3 separate regions of the Homo sapiens genome follow, and regions 1 and 3 are each linked to region 2. Evidence: promoter capture Hi-C in human tissues and cell types (Jung and others, 2019). All regions are on one chromosome and are shown on one strand. Each heading gives the region's core, a stretch centred on a gene start or on the middle of the fragment in contact. The rest is flanking DNA. Distances are from core to core; before and after follow the strand shown.

What was found. The method cuts DNA at HindIII sites, captures the fragments that hold promoters and counts their contacts. A contact is called where the count stands out against the background at its distance.
Region 1: a fragment that was not itself captured here is called in contact with the fragment with the promoter of UBC in region 2 in 1 of the 25 tissues and cell types used here (hippocampus).
Region 3: a fragment that was not itself captured here is called in contact with the fragment with the promoter of UBC in region 2 in 1 of the 25 tissues and cell types used here (lymphoblastoid cells).

Annotation. Positions count from the first base shown.
Region 1 is chr12:124,575,238-124,579,821 of GRCh38, forward strand. No RefSeq gene overlaps it. Among named protein-coding and RNA genes, the nearest start is that of NCOR2, 9.9 kb to the left of the region's middle. The HindIII fragment of the contact is 3,701 bases long and covers 270-3,970 here.
Region 2 is chr12:124,913,400-124,918,091 of GRCh38, forward strand. It overlaps UBC (ubiquitin C), which reads right to left and starts at 1,251. Exons shown (of 2, transcript NM_021009.7): 1 at 1,188-1,251; 2 at 1-375. The coding sequence starts at 372. MIR5188 (microRNA 5188) reads left to right here and starts at 2,148; the gene lies at 2,148-2,260. RefSeq lists enhancers at 548-1,505, 830-1,279, 2,604-3,803, 2,903-3,582, 2,944-3,238 and 2 more and silencers at 1,490-1,829, 3,188-3,247. The HindIII fragment of the contact is 8,951 bases long and covers 1-4,692 here.
Region 3 is chr12:124,483,355-124,487,611 of GRCh38, forward strand. NCOR2 (nuclear receptor corepressor 2) reads right to left here. Exons shown (of 49, transcript NM_006312.6): 4 at 3,087-3,214; 5 at 242-419. Among named protein-coding and RNA genes, the nearest start is that of NCOR2, 82 kb to the right of the region's middle. The HindIII fragment of the contact is 9,163 bases long and covers 1-4,257 here.

The DNA of each region.
Region 1 (4,584 bases), core at 870-3,369, 340 kb before region 2:
GGCGTGCCCACTGTGTGCGAGGCACCACACTAGGTGTGTGAGATATAGCAGTGAATGAGATAGGCAGTCTCTGCCTCCGTGGAGCTGACATTCTAAAGAGAGGGATGCATAATTAAAACTCAATAAATATATCATTCCCTGGATGAGAAGGTGGTAAGTGCTCTGCAAGAAATAAATCCAGAAAGGAAGGCCAGGCACTGTGACTCACTCCTGGAATCCCAGCACCTTGGGAGGCCAAGGTGGGTGGATCACCTGAGGTCAGGAGTTCGAGACCAGCCCGGCCAACATGGTGAAACCACCTCTCTACCAAAAATACAAAAATTAGCTGGGCATGGTAGTAGGTGCCTGAAATCCCAGCTACTTGGGAGGCTGAGGAAGGTGAATCGCTTGAACCCGGGAGGCAGAGGTTGCAGTGAGCCACGATCGCATCACTGCACTCCAGCCTGGGTGACAGAGCGAGACTCAGTCTCAAAAAGATAATGAATAAATCAGGAAAGGAAGGTAGTGTGCACAGGTGTGGGAGGTCAGGGAAGTATCTGGGAGAAAGCACAACAGGCAGAGGGAACCACCAGTGCAAAGGCCCTGGGGTGGGAATGTGCCTGGTGTATTCCTGGAACAGCAAAGAGCCCCGTGTGAGAACAGTGGATGGAGTGGGCAGTTCAGGGAGGGACATATGGCAGGAGCCAGGGAGAGGTTGGGGAGGACACAGGACAAATTGACAGCAGAGGTTGCCTCTGGGTGGGGGCTGGGGGAGGATGTGACAAGGGCAGGTGCAGGGGACGCCCTGGGAAATGGGGGTTGAGGCAGAGGGTCACTTGCTCTGACCATGTCTGTGTGAAATGTTTACAGATGGAAAATGCTTTCTTGCTTTGTTTTTCAGCTTGGATATCTGGTTTTGGACATCCCTGCGTGCACTTCTGGAGTCTTTCGAGATTCAAGGAGGTCTCCTTTCCAGCATCTTTGCCCCACATTTTCTCCTTCTCAGCCTCCCTGAGAATGTTAGGAATTAGCCCCTGGGTGGCCTCACCCTCTGCTTGGGCCTGGAAAGCCAACCCCTGCCCCTTCCCTTCTTCCCAGGGCACAGACACGCACAGACACACACACAGATGGTGAAAGAGCCTGCACTGCAGTGGTGACTGTTGCTGCATCCAACTCTAAAGCAGCCCTGGCCCAAACCGCCCCGCTCAGACCTGGACCAAGGGGAGATCAGACCCCAAAGGCCTGTCCAGAGTGGGTGCGACCTGCGGTCTTAGAACTGAGCTTGTTTGTCCCTCCTGGGTTCCCTCTGGCTTCTGCCTGTCCGAGCCAGTCATACTGGATCTCTCATTTTAAAAATGAATGCTGCTGGTCCCCCTGGCTCAGAAGGGTCCTCCAGGCCTCTCTGGTGCCTGCCAGAATTATTGTAAGCCCAGCATTGCACGTGAAAAGTTGACAGGGCTCTAAAATCCCAGGGGGAAGGTCCCTCTAGCAAGTTAAAGTGGAAAGGATCCACAGATTCGAATCCGACAGATCTGGGTTCACCTCCAAACTCGGCTATCTCATTGAATCACTCAACAAACACGTTTTCTGTTGGTCCTGGGGTCCCACAGTGAACAAGACTCAACACGGAGGCAGCTCTCTGGAGGGCAGAGTGGGAGACACCTGGCTGGGCCTGCTGCATGTGTCTCCCACTCTTCCTGGTCCGTCTTCCTGAACAGCAGAAGCCAACGACCATGTTTCCAGGATCCCTTGCAGCTAGGGCTCTGTATGGATTCTGGGTCCAGCAACCCATTTATCACACTCAAATTCAGGACCAAGTCCATCGGGTGGAGAGAGGGTCTGCAGCAGCCACTGGGCCGAGTGGACTGCAGCAGGGGGTCAGACACTATGGGGACAGAGTCTCATTTGGAAGGTGGCTTCCCACCTGGGCTGGGGCAGCAGCTCCCTGGTAGCCCAGGCCTGTGACATCGCTGAGCATCCTGCCAGGAGGCTCCACCTCAACTGCTCAGGCCCTGTAGCACCCTGCGGGAAGCCCTCCAAACACCCAGGGCAGATCCTCTTCCCTGCAAGATTGAGGGAGTCACGAATCACACAAGCAAAGGAAGGAAGCATCATCAAGGCTGGTGAAGGGGGCCCAAAAGGATAGGGGCCAGGAGTGCTGCAGAGCACGGGGAGGACAGGTTTGAGATTAGGTGATCCTGGAGGGTCTCCCTGAGGAGGTGACATTTAAGACGGCGGCGGCCGGGGGTGAGGGAACAGCATTCTAGGTGGGAGAAACAGCAGATGCAAAGGCCACACCATGGGAAGTGACTCGATGTGTCTGAAGAATGGATAGAACACCGGTGTGGCTGGAGCGTGAGGAGGGGCAAGTCACTTGATCTCTTTGAGCCTCAGTTTTCCTCATCTGTAAAATGGGGCTGGACTCCCTCCCTGGCTGAAAGCACAAGAAATCAAATTAATATGTAATGGCATGCTGTTGTTTCAGGTGGTGTTGAGAGGAGAGTAAAGCACAGGGTGGCTGGGGAAGGCCTCTTGGGGGAGGTGACAATGGGGCACAGACATGAATGAAAGACAGTGCCAGCCACGAGGATGTCCACAGAAAGGACATTTGGGGCAGGGGGCGTGGCAAGTGCAAAGGCCCTCAGGTAGGATGCACGAGCTCGGCAAACACGCATGTCCTCGCAAGCCACAACACGGAGCCCACCCTTCCCCTACAAGCAATGGGAGACCCTGATGGGTTTCAGCAGGACTGTGGTCAGGTCTGGGCGTGTTTAGAATGGGGATCCCTGAGAGGCAGGGAGGCCGGGTGGGAGGTCTCATGGCAATGAGAAATAACGAGTGCCAAGACAGGGGCAGTGCAGGGGGTGGAGGAAATGGGCGCTGTGGAGGGTCAGCAGGTGAGATGTAGGGAATCCAGTGCCCCAGGCCTCAGGAGGAGAGGCCTGCAGGGGCGGGGCCGAGACAAGCCTGGGCAGGGAGAAGGGAAGGGAGCCCGTCTGTGCCTGTAGCCTGGGCAGGGAGAAGGGAAGGGAGCCCGTCTGTGCCTGGAAACCAATTTGCTCTGGCAGCGCTGTGGAAGAAAAATTCCACGCATGTCCCCGCGAGCCCTTCGAAGCTCTTCGTGGAAAGGCACACACTGCAGTCTTGGAGTGCATCCTGCTCTTAGGGCCTCTGGGGGCCAAGTCAAGCCGATGAAGGGTGTGCGATGTGGGTGGATCAGGCCTGGGAGGCTCCAGCGCGGCCTCTCCAAAGCCACCCATCCCATGATCTTTCCTACCTTCCCCATACCTCAGTTTCCTTTCTGTTATATGGGTGTCCTGTGAGCCCCTTCCTCACGGGGTGGCCGTTAGAATTAAATGGGATCCTGGGTGTAAAGCCTTAGCACAGTGCCAGGCCATATAGATGTCAGCCACAAGGGGAGGTGTGGGCGTGGGCCAGGAGAAACCCGGGAAGACTTCCTGGCAAAGGCAGAACTGGTGCTGAGACTGGCTAATCACTGCAAAGGCTGCCTGGGCTATTCCAACCTGCCCAGTTCATGCTCAGACTTCTGGAATCTGCAAGAACCTTTGGAAGGAGACACGATTATCAGCCCCATGGTATTACTCTCCTGTCGCTGCTGTAATGAATTAAGCCAAACGTGGTGGCTGAAAACAGTACAGATTCATTACCTTACAGTTCTGGAAGTCAGCAGTCTGAAGTGGCTCCTGGAGAGATGGAATCAAGGTGCCAGCAGGGCTGTGTTCCTCTTGGAGGATCTGAGGGAGAATCTATTTCCTCACCTTTTCCAGCTGCCAGAGGCTGGTGGCCTCGCCTCACTCCAATCTCTTCTTCCATCGCTGCATCTCCTCCCCAACTCTGACCTCCTGACTCCCTCTCACAAGGAAGCTTGTGATTACACTGGGCCCACCCGGATAATCCAGGATCATCTCCCATCTCAAAATCCTTTACTTAATCACCTCTGCAAAGCCCCTTTGCCATGTAAGGTAGCAGATTCACAGATTCTAGAAATTAGGATGGGGACATCTCTGGAGCTATTATTCCACCCAGCAGATCCGTCTCATGCATAAGAAAAACAAAGGTGAGAAGCCAGAGGGAAAGCTTGAGATCACCTGACTCAAGAGGGGAGCGTTGGCTTCGAACCCAGTCTGTCCAACTTCAAAGCCTGCAGTTGCCGTCATTTCAGGATTCCCGCTTTTCCCATGCGTATTGTCTGAACCTGCATTTGGGGGCTCCAGCCACTGCCTCATCAGTTCATCTTAATTGAGCACCTATTATGTACCAGGTAATGTTCCAGGCACCAGGGATACAGTGGTCACCAAGCCAGGAGAACTTCCCTGTCTGCACAACGCTCATAGTCACTCAATCACATCCATTATGAGGCAAGTCACAGAAACCTCAGCTCAAATCAACGTAAGCAATGAGGTCATTTATCATTTCACATAGCAAGAAATTAGGAGGAAGGGTGGTTCTGGGTTTGGTTAGATTGAGTGCCATTGTCAGGGATCTCCCGGTTCTTTCCATCTTTCTGGTTTCCTCCCCTCAGATTGGTTCTCATCCCAAATTTCCTCATGACCACAAAATAGCTGCCACTGCTCCAGCTAATAT
Region 2 (4,692 bases), core at 1-2,500:
CTTTCCGGCAAAGATCAACCTCTGCTGGTCAGGAGGAATGCCTTCCTTGTCCTGGATCTTTGCTTTGACGTTCTCGATGGTGTCACTGGGCTCGACCTCAAGGGTGATGGTCTTGCCAGTGAGTGTCTTCACGAAGATTTGCATCCCACCTCTGAGACGGAGCACCAGGTGCAGGGTGGACTCTTTCTGGATGTTGTAGTCAGACAGGGTGCGCCCATCTTCCAGCTGTTTTCCAGCAAAGATCAGCCTCTGCTGGTCAGGAGGGATGCCTTCCTTATCTTGGATCTTTGCCTTGACATTCTCGATGGTGTCACTGGGCTCAACCTCGAGGGTGATGGTCTTACCAGTCAGAGTCTTCACGAAGATCTGCATTGTCTAACAAAAAAGCCAAAAACGGCCAGAATTTAGCGGACAATTTACTAGTCTAACACTGAAAATTACATATTGACCCAAATGATTACATTTCAAAAGGTGCCTAAAAAACTTCACAAAACACACTCGCCAACCCCGAGCGCATAGTTCAAAACCGGAGCTTCAGCTACTTAAGAAGATAGGTACATAAAACCGACCAGAGAAACTGACGCCTCACTTATCCCTCCCCTCACCAGAGGTCCGGCGCCTGTCGATTCAGGAGAGCCTACCCTAGGCCCGAACCCTGCGTCCTGCGACGGAGAAAAGCCTACCGCACACCTACCGGCAGGTGGCCCCACCCTGCATTATAAGCCAACAGAACGGGTGACGTCACGACACGACGAGGGCGCGCGCTCCCAAAGGTACGGGTGCACTGCCCAACGGCACCGCCATAACTGCCGCCCCCGCAACAGACGACAAACCGAGTTCTCCAGTCAGTGACAAACTTCACGTCAGGGTCCCCAGATGGTGCCCCAGCCCATCTCACCCGAATAAGAGCTTTCCCGCATTAGCGAAGGCCTCAAGACCTTGGGTTCTTGCCGCCCACCATGCCCCCCACCTTGTTTCAACGACCTCACAGCCCGCCTCACAAGCGTCTTCCATTCAAGACTCGGGAACAGCCGCCATTTTGCTGCGCTCCCCCCAACCCCCAGTTCAGGGCAACCTTGCTCGCGGACCCAGACTACAGCCCTTGGCGGTCTCTCCACACGCCTCCGTCCCACCGAGCGGCCCGGCGGCCACGAAAGCCCCGGCCAGCCCAGCAGCCCGCTACTCACCAAGTGACGATCACAGCGATCCACAAACAAGAACTGCGACCCAAATCCCGGCTGCGACGGAACTAGCTGTGCCACACCCGGCGCGTCCTTATATAATCATCGGCGTTCACCGCCCCACGGAGATCCCTCCGCAGAATCGCCGAGAAGGGACTACTTTTCCTCGCCTGTTCCGCTCTCTGGAAAGAAAACCAGTGCCCTAGAGTCACCCAAGTCCCGTCCTAAAATGTCCTTCTGCTGATACTGGGGTTCTAAGGCCGAGTCTTATGAGCAGCGGGCCGCTGTCCTGAGCGTCCGGGCGGAAGGATCAGGACGCTCGCTGCGCCCTTCGTCTGACGTGGCAGCGCTCGCCGTGAGGAGGGGGGCGCCCGCGGGAGGCGCCAAAACCCGGCGCGGAGGCCGCTGCACCGGGAGCGGGTGGGCGGCCCGCGTTCCTTAGCCGCGGCTCCGCGGCCCCTCCCCTCAGCCCCCGCGGTCCCCTCGGGTCGCGAACCCCGCGTTCGGCGGACGTGGGGCACGCAGCGAGCGCCTTCTGCAGAGTCGGGGTCTCCCTCCCCTCCCTCCTGACCCGCCCTGGCCCACCCTGCGAGATGGACGGGTCTTTATTTTTGGGTCACATTTGAGGTAATGACGGGGCTTCCTTTGCTCAGCCCCCTTCAACCTCCCTGAGCCTCCCAGGCCGGTCGCGGGGGGCTCCCGGGGCCGCGGGACAAGGACAATGACTCGGCAGATCTCAGGGCGGGCGTGGCCCTAAAGCTGGGGAACGCTCGAGAACTTTCCAGGGGAGACACTGCAGAGGAGCTGGGTGTCCAGGTTAAATTTGGAAAAAAGAGGCGGAAACCCCACACAGTTTTATTTTAGCTGGAACGCAAGGCTGAGCGAACGACATCCTTCTAGACTGTTCTTCCACCTTCCTGTACATTCTGAGGGCCAGGTATGGAAAGGTCCTACTTGATGCCAACAGGGAGGCATGGAAATTTCTCTGGTTTCAATGGGTACGATTATTGTAAGCAGGATCCATTCAATAATCGGACCCATTTAAACCGGAGATTTTAAAAGACAGGAATAGAATCCCAACCTTATTTCAGTGCAGGGTAGGGTGTCAAATATGAAATGTAATTCTACAGGGCAATTCTATTTTGGTAAAAGAAGTGGGGAGAAAAGCATCACCAGCCAGCTTTTTAAATTTTTACCACAACCTATTTTGTGATCCCTACGTGTCATTTCTTCAGTATATTTTTTAAATGTTTTAAAATATACGAACATGGTGAGATTTTTTAAATGTGTCTTTTTAAAGTGTACAGTGAAAAGTCTCCCTCATGCCCTCAATTTCCCAGCCACTGTTCCTTCTGGACTCTTCTACAAATAGTCCCTGTTTCTACAAATGTATTGGAGGTAGGGAGGCTATTTTGATTTCTACCCTTAAAAGCTTCAAAAAAAAGAGAAAAAGAGGCTACCAACTGAAAAATATTTTGCCATTAGGAAAAGGCTGCATTCTTGTTTTAAGTTATGAACATTACATTATTTAAACGGCAGACTTAAAATATGCATCAAAGCAAAATGAACCTGCTATATATTTTCTATGGTAACCCATGTTTCTGTGTATTTATGAAAATCCAAGATCTGTGCATTGTTCAAAACAGACTTTGACATCTCCAATTTTTAACATTTTAAAGAGAATGAATTCATGTGTTACTGGGAAATTAAAACGAATAATAAAAGTGTCATTTTCCAGGATTGGCAGGATACCCCAGTGATTTCCAATACACATTTCTGCAAAGTTTTTGTTTTTTGTTTTTCCCCTACATTTCGGGAAGGAGTTTTGAAGGGATTAAAAAGCTGAGATTCTTTCTGAGGTGACCAGGCCTGGCTTTCAACCACGCCCTGGTTGCTTTTGGCTGTTACTCTGCTGCAAGCCTTGTGATTCATGTTGTTTAAAGGCTGAGTCACCAGCTTTGTGACATAGCTTTTTTCAGAGTCCAAAAGGTACAGAGAAAAAACAGCCCTAACTGCAGAGGCAGGGGCGGGAGAGGAGGACAGGAGGAGGAAAAAGGAAGAAGAGGGGATGAGGGTAGGGTGGGTAATGGGCCAAAGGTTAGCTGCAAAGAGAAACCAATGTTGTCTCTAGCAGAAAAAAATTATTGAAAACATCCCAGCATTCCCTGACTTAAATGGTTATTGAAGCAAACAGAAATAAACCTTTCTCCAAAGTCACTGAGGTGACAGGGAAGAAAATGGCCTCCCAAAACGCAGGTGTCTGATGTTTCTCTACAACAATGGTTCTCAACAAGGAGTGATTTGCTCTTTCAGGGGACATTTGGCAATATCTGGAGATATTCTTGGTTGTCACAACTCAGGGGAGGTTAGGGGATGCTACTACTAATACTAGCACTGTTGGTAGACACCAGGGATGCCACTGAACATTCTATGAGGGACAGTCCCCCACAACAAAGAATTATCAGACCCAACATATTAATAGTGCTGAAATTAAGAAACCCTGTCCTACAAAGGATTTTTGTTGTTGCAACAACTGCTTTTCTGTTTTCCGAAAGGGTTCCCAAAGTCTAAATGTCCCACTTGGACTCAGGAGTCAGGTATCAAGTCACGCTCTTAAAACCTAAACCCTGCTGACCTAGAATGCGATGTGCTAGAATGTGCAAGAATCGGGATGAGTCACTGGATCCGTTTTCAGTTCGTTCCACCCACAGATCCGTCCTTTGCAGGCGCCCCAGAAAAGATTGCTTCAGAGCTGGCACCAATGGAGAAGGGACAGAGGCCCAGCAACAGGGCGGGATTGGCAGGCGGAAGGGAGCGTGTGATGAGCTGAGCTCACAAAGGGCCGGGGTGCTGGGCTGCAGCTGGGGAGGGCGGGGTTGGATCAGCGCCTGCTCCTCCGCCTTCGTTTTTCCCCTCCCCCTAAGGATTCAGTTCCCCCTTCTGAAATTCACCACCTTGTATGTGACTTAATCCAGCCCCATGAAACTGTCTGAGAGCATGAGTGAGGGTCAACAAACTTGCTTCCCCCAAGAAAAAGGGTGGAATCAGAGAGGTGGTGGGAAGGGTTTGCCTTGCTTTGTCATCGCTTATATAACCATAAAAGGTTGTCAAGGACGCCTGCAGGTTAGAGGCCTGGCAAACAGGAAGTAAAAAAAAAAAACCTGGGGAATGTGTTCTTCTTCCTGTTTCTGCTTGTGCTGTATAACTGTGTGGTGGAACACAAACCGCTCCAGCTTAAAAATAACCCATTCATCTCAGCGGTCAAAACCGGACTTAGCTAGTCTCCAAATTTGCCTACTTTAGGAACATTAGGAAGTTATTTAACCTATTTGGGCTTTGTTTGTGTCGTCGTTTGGTTTTGTCTTAAAATTGTGGTAAAATACACATAAAATTTACCATTCTTAAGTGTACATTTCTGTAGCATGAAGTACATTCAGTATTGTGCATCAGCCATCACCACCAAGCCATTTCTGGAGCTCTTTTCGTCTTGCAAAACAAACTCTGTCCCCAT
Region 3 (4,257 bases), core at 1,258-3,757, 430 kb before region 2:
ACTTGCTGCTCTGCCCACCTGGAACACCTTCCCCACTTCTTCCCACACTCTGGCACCTCCAGAGACCCAGCGCCTGCCCTCTTCCTGCCACCCAGCTCTGTGCACCCGGTGCTTGGCCCACCTCCAAGCCTTTGCCCGAGCTGCCCCCTCCCTGCACCCCTACCCACCACCTCCCACCCAGCCCAACCAGCAGCAGAACCTCAAGCGGGAGAGGAGCTCCCAGCTGGGGGCCCAGGCTTACCTTGGTGAGGTCTTCAGATCCCGCAGGCTGGCCCGTGGCCAGCAGGGGTGACGGTCGCAGCAGGGGGTCAGGCAGCAGCTCTAGCCGAGGGCGCTTGCTTTCAATGAACTCCATCTCTGACTTCCCCAGCTCGGGCAGGTATGAGTGGGACTCTGGCCGCAGGTGGAGCTCCTGGGACCTGCAGGAGGTGAGGCATCCAACGTCACATAGGAGATTGCGGCTCTGAGAACTCCCGAGGCCCCGACCACCCTCTGCGCCGAGCATCTACTGCGCGCCGTGCTCTGTATGATCCTGCCAGGAAGGTGCTCACAGGAGCCCACCTCCCACGGTCCCACAGCAGGGCAGGACTCCAATGCAGCGCTGCCTTCCTTCAGGTCCACATTCACCGAGGACATTTACAGGGAGGGAGTGTGCTACGGTGGCACTGGAACACCCCAGAGTGACTGCCCCTCCCTTGCTACGGACCACCCCACCGTCCCCACCTGGGGCTGGCTACAATGCAGAATCTCCAGTACCATCTGAGGCCTACTGAGTCAGACTCGGCATTTTAACAAGATCATTGGGTGGTTCACAGGCACAGTCCATCCGGGAAACGCTGTGAGCCTAACACAGATAACAGCACCCGTGATGCCATTTCCCTCTCACCCACGCAGGGCAGACATCGCTGGCCGATCGCAGAACTCTTGCTGCTGAACCTGGCCTAACCACCTTCTCAACTCAGCCTAGCAGCCTGGTGCAGAGACTGGAGCTGCCCAGTTTCCCCAGCGACTGGCTCTCCTGAACCCTCCTCCGCAGTGTGCCTAGAGAGGGCATGGCCTTGCCTAACTAAGCACACCCCACGGAGCTGGGACTCCTGGCCTCCACCTCTGAGGCTCCAACCATCACCCACCAGAAAGAGCCTGAATATGGGCCTTGCTGAAATGCTTTTCCCAGAGGCTAAGCAGGGAATCCACAGCTGTTCCCCTCCTGCACAAGCCCTGCCTGGCCTGGCCCTCGCTGTCCCGCCACTGCACTCCTGCCCCAGGGCCTTTGCACCTGCTGGGCTCTGCCTGGAGCACTGAGACCTCAGGCCCTCCATGTGAGCTCCTCCCCTTCCTGTCATGGTGCAGATGGCGCCTCCTTGTCCCAGGCCAGACCACACTACACCCGCCTGTCTGCTCTCTCTCCACTGCCCTCCCACGCGCTTGGTGACAACAGGTGTTTCCTGGCCACCTCCCCCACCCATGAATGAACGCAGGGTGGTTCACCTGTCTTGTTCATGGCTGTCCCCAGGTACTGGCGCACAGTAGGTGTTCAATCAGTGCCTGTAGACTGACTGAATGCTGCCCACTGCAGCACGGGCTGGGGCCGTGTTGCTGGCCCCCCCGGGGAGCGGGGCAGCCACCCCTCTGTGCTCACCTCCCTGGAGGGCCCTCAAGTCCTTGTCCCTCCAAAGCTGGGCCCCAAGACATCCCCCTCTTCAAGGCCCAGAACCCAGGGCTTCACCATTACATGGGGCTTGGCAGGAAGCGCATGGTGTTTTCTCTTAAACATGATAGTGGCACTGCAGTGGCTCAAATAATGTCCTCCCAAAATCCACGGCCACTGGAACCTCCAAATATAACATCCTCCCAAAATGCACAGCCACTGGAACCTCAAAATAAGACCTTCTTTGGACCTAGGGTCATTGCAGATGGAATTAAGCTAAGATGAGGCCATCCTGGATTAGGATCACTGGGATCCTTGTAACACAACAAGAGAACACAGAGACAGACAAGGAAATGGCCACGTGAGACAGAGGCAGAGGCAGAGGCAGAGATTGGACCGATGCAGCCACAGCTGAGGAACGCCTGTAGCCCCCAGAAGCTGGAGGAGACAGAAAAGCATCCTCCCCTTGAGCCTTCTGAGGGGGCGCGGCCCTGCGGACGCCCTGACTTCAGATCACGGGAATGCACTTCTGTGGCTTGAAGCCGCCCAGTTTGTGGCACGTTGCGACGGCAGGCCCAGGAAACCAATCCAGGTACAGAAGGCACGCTGCCTCGGCCTCCCCTCCTCCAGACGCCTGCGCCCACCTGAGTTCACCAGCCCCGCCTGATCTGGGGCCCTGGGACACCTCCGTGGTACCATGAAGGGCTGGGGCCTGGTGCCTCGACTTCTAGTCCTGGCTGAGTAAACAAGAGCCCATCCCTCAACCTCGCAGCCTCAGCTGCCCCATCTGAGAAATAGGCACAATTCCCCACACCTCAGCCGTCTCCAGCAGAAGCTCCTAGAGAAGATGGGAGAAAGAACGTGGCCTACCGATCCCAAGTGAATGCATGGAGAGCTGGCTCTGACCCAGCCCTGGCCCTCCCCTTGCTGTAGTCCCTCCAGCTCCCCACCCCACCTCCCTCCCACTCCCCACCTCCCTCTCACCCTACCACCTAACCTGTTCATTCCCTTCCCACCTGGATCAAGGAAAGTAAGGCTGGCCCAGCACAGGCACACACCAGAGGGTGTCCTCTGCCAGCTGGAGAAGAAGGAAGAATGGGAGGAGAGGGCAGGGGCCCCAGGGGCACCAGGTGTGGACTCAAATCTTCCCACAGAAGCCCAGCCCTGCTGCAGCCCAGCTTGGAGGTCCCCACTGCTGCCTAAACCCACAGAGGCCACTGAAGTTCCACGCTGGAAGTCTGAGGGCCACGTGGCTCTTCCCTGCTCGTCCCATCCTCACCCCGAGTCACGCCCACGCCAGGTCAAGGGTGAACACACGGCCCGACATCCCCTCATTTCACAGGACCCTGTGTGCTCCTGCTCTGCCACGGGCCTCTGCTTCTCCATCTGAGAAGGAGCTCTCACGCCCTGGACAGGGAGGCAGCAACTCTCTCCTCACCGTTCATTCCCGGGCTGGAACTCAGACAGCAGGGAGGGCCTCCGCCGCTGGGGCTGGATGATGGAGCCGGGCGACAGGTGGGAGGCATAGTCGCGGGAGTGGTGCTGGTACTCCAGGAGCCCGACGTCCTGCAGGAGGGGACAGAGGAGTGGTGAGCGTGGGCGGGCACGGGCATGGCGGGGCACGGCAGGGCACAGTGGGCAAGGCCGTGGACTCCCTGCTCAGGCTCGCTCCTGCCCTAGGCAGATAAGCCCAAGTCCTGCAGGGAACCTCAGGGACCGTCTGGCCAGAGGCTACCCTTGGGGCCGAACACCAAGGAGGAGAAAGAACACAGCTGAACGGCCCTGGGCTGCATCCTTCCCACACAGCATCCCAGGGACCCACGATCACGCCCACCTTCCAAATGAGACTGCCAAGCCTGGGAGGTCTGATGGGGCTGTCTGAGGCCACAGGCTAATACAGGCCTGGAACCATCCTAACCATGGCCTCTGTCTGCCGGCCATGCTGGCGTTGACTGGGGGGCCAGAGTAGAGGAAGCTGTCTTCGCTTTTCTACCCTCCCACCCCATCCTACCCCTGCCAGGCTGTGGGTCCCTCCAGCCTGAGGAGCTGAAGCTTGGAAATGCAGGCCTGGGAAGACAGGACTGAAGGTGCATACGGGGCAGCATTATTTGTAAAAACAGAAATGCATTTGCAGCAACAACTGGGAAAAGGCCCAACCTAGATGCCCAGCTCTTGGCAGGGTGGGTAAGTGATGCCCACGCGAGGGAACGAGGCTCGGGCCTCACTCGCCAGGAGAAGGATGGATGGTGGCAAGTGATGGCGACAAACACCCGACAGCCAGCGAGGCCCAAAGACCAGGTTTCAGAACAAAGCGACCCCTGACCCCAAGGCCGCCCTGTAAAAGAGGAACTCCCCGCTCGTATCACAGCCAGAAGGGTAAGCCTTAGGCAGACCTTCCTCCTTTAATAACACACCGTCGTCCATTTGACAAAGACTCTCCTTGCCCACACCTGAGTCAAGCTCCTCTGACCCATCCTCTCTCTACGGGGCCTCGGCCTTGGCCTTGGCCTTGCGGGGCTCTGCCCAGCTGCAGGCATCCTGCTAAGTCAGTCTAGAGGAACCCCCCACCCTCAAGCGCTCCTCTTAGTAATTTTCCATCCACCGACCCC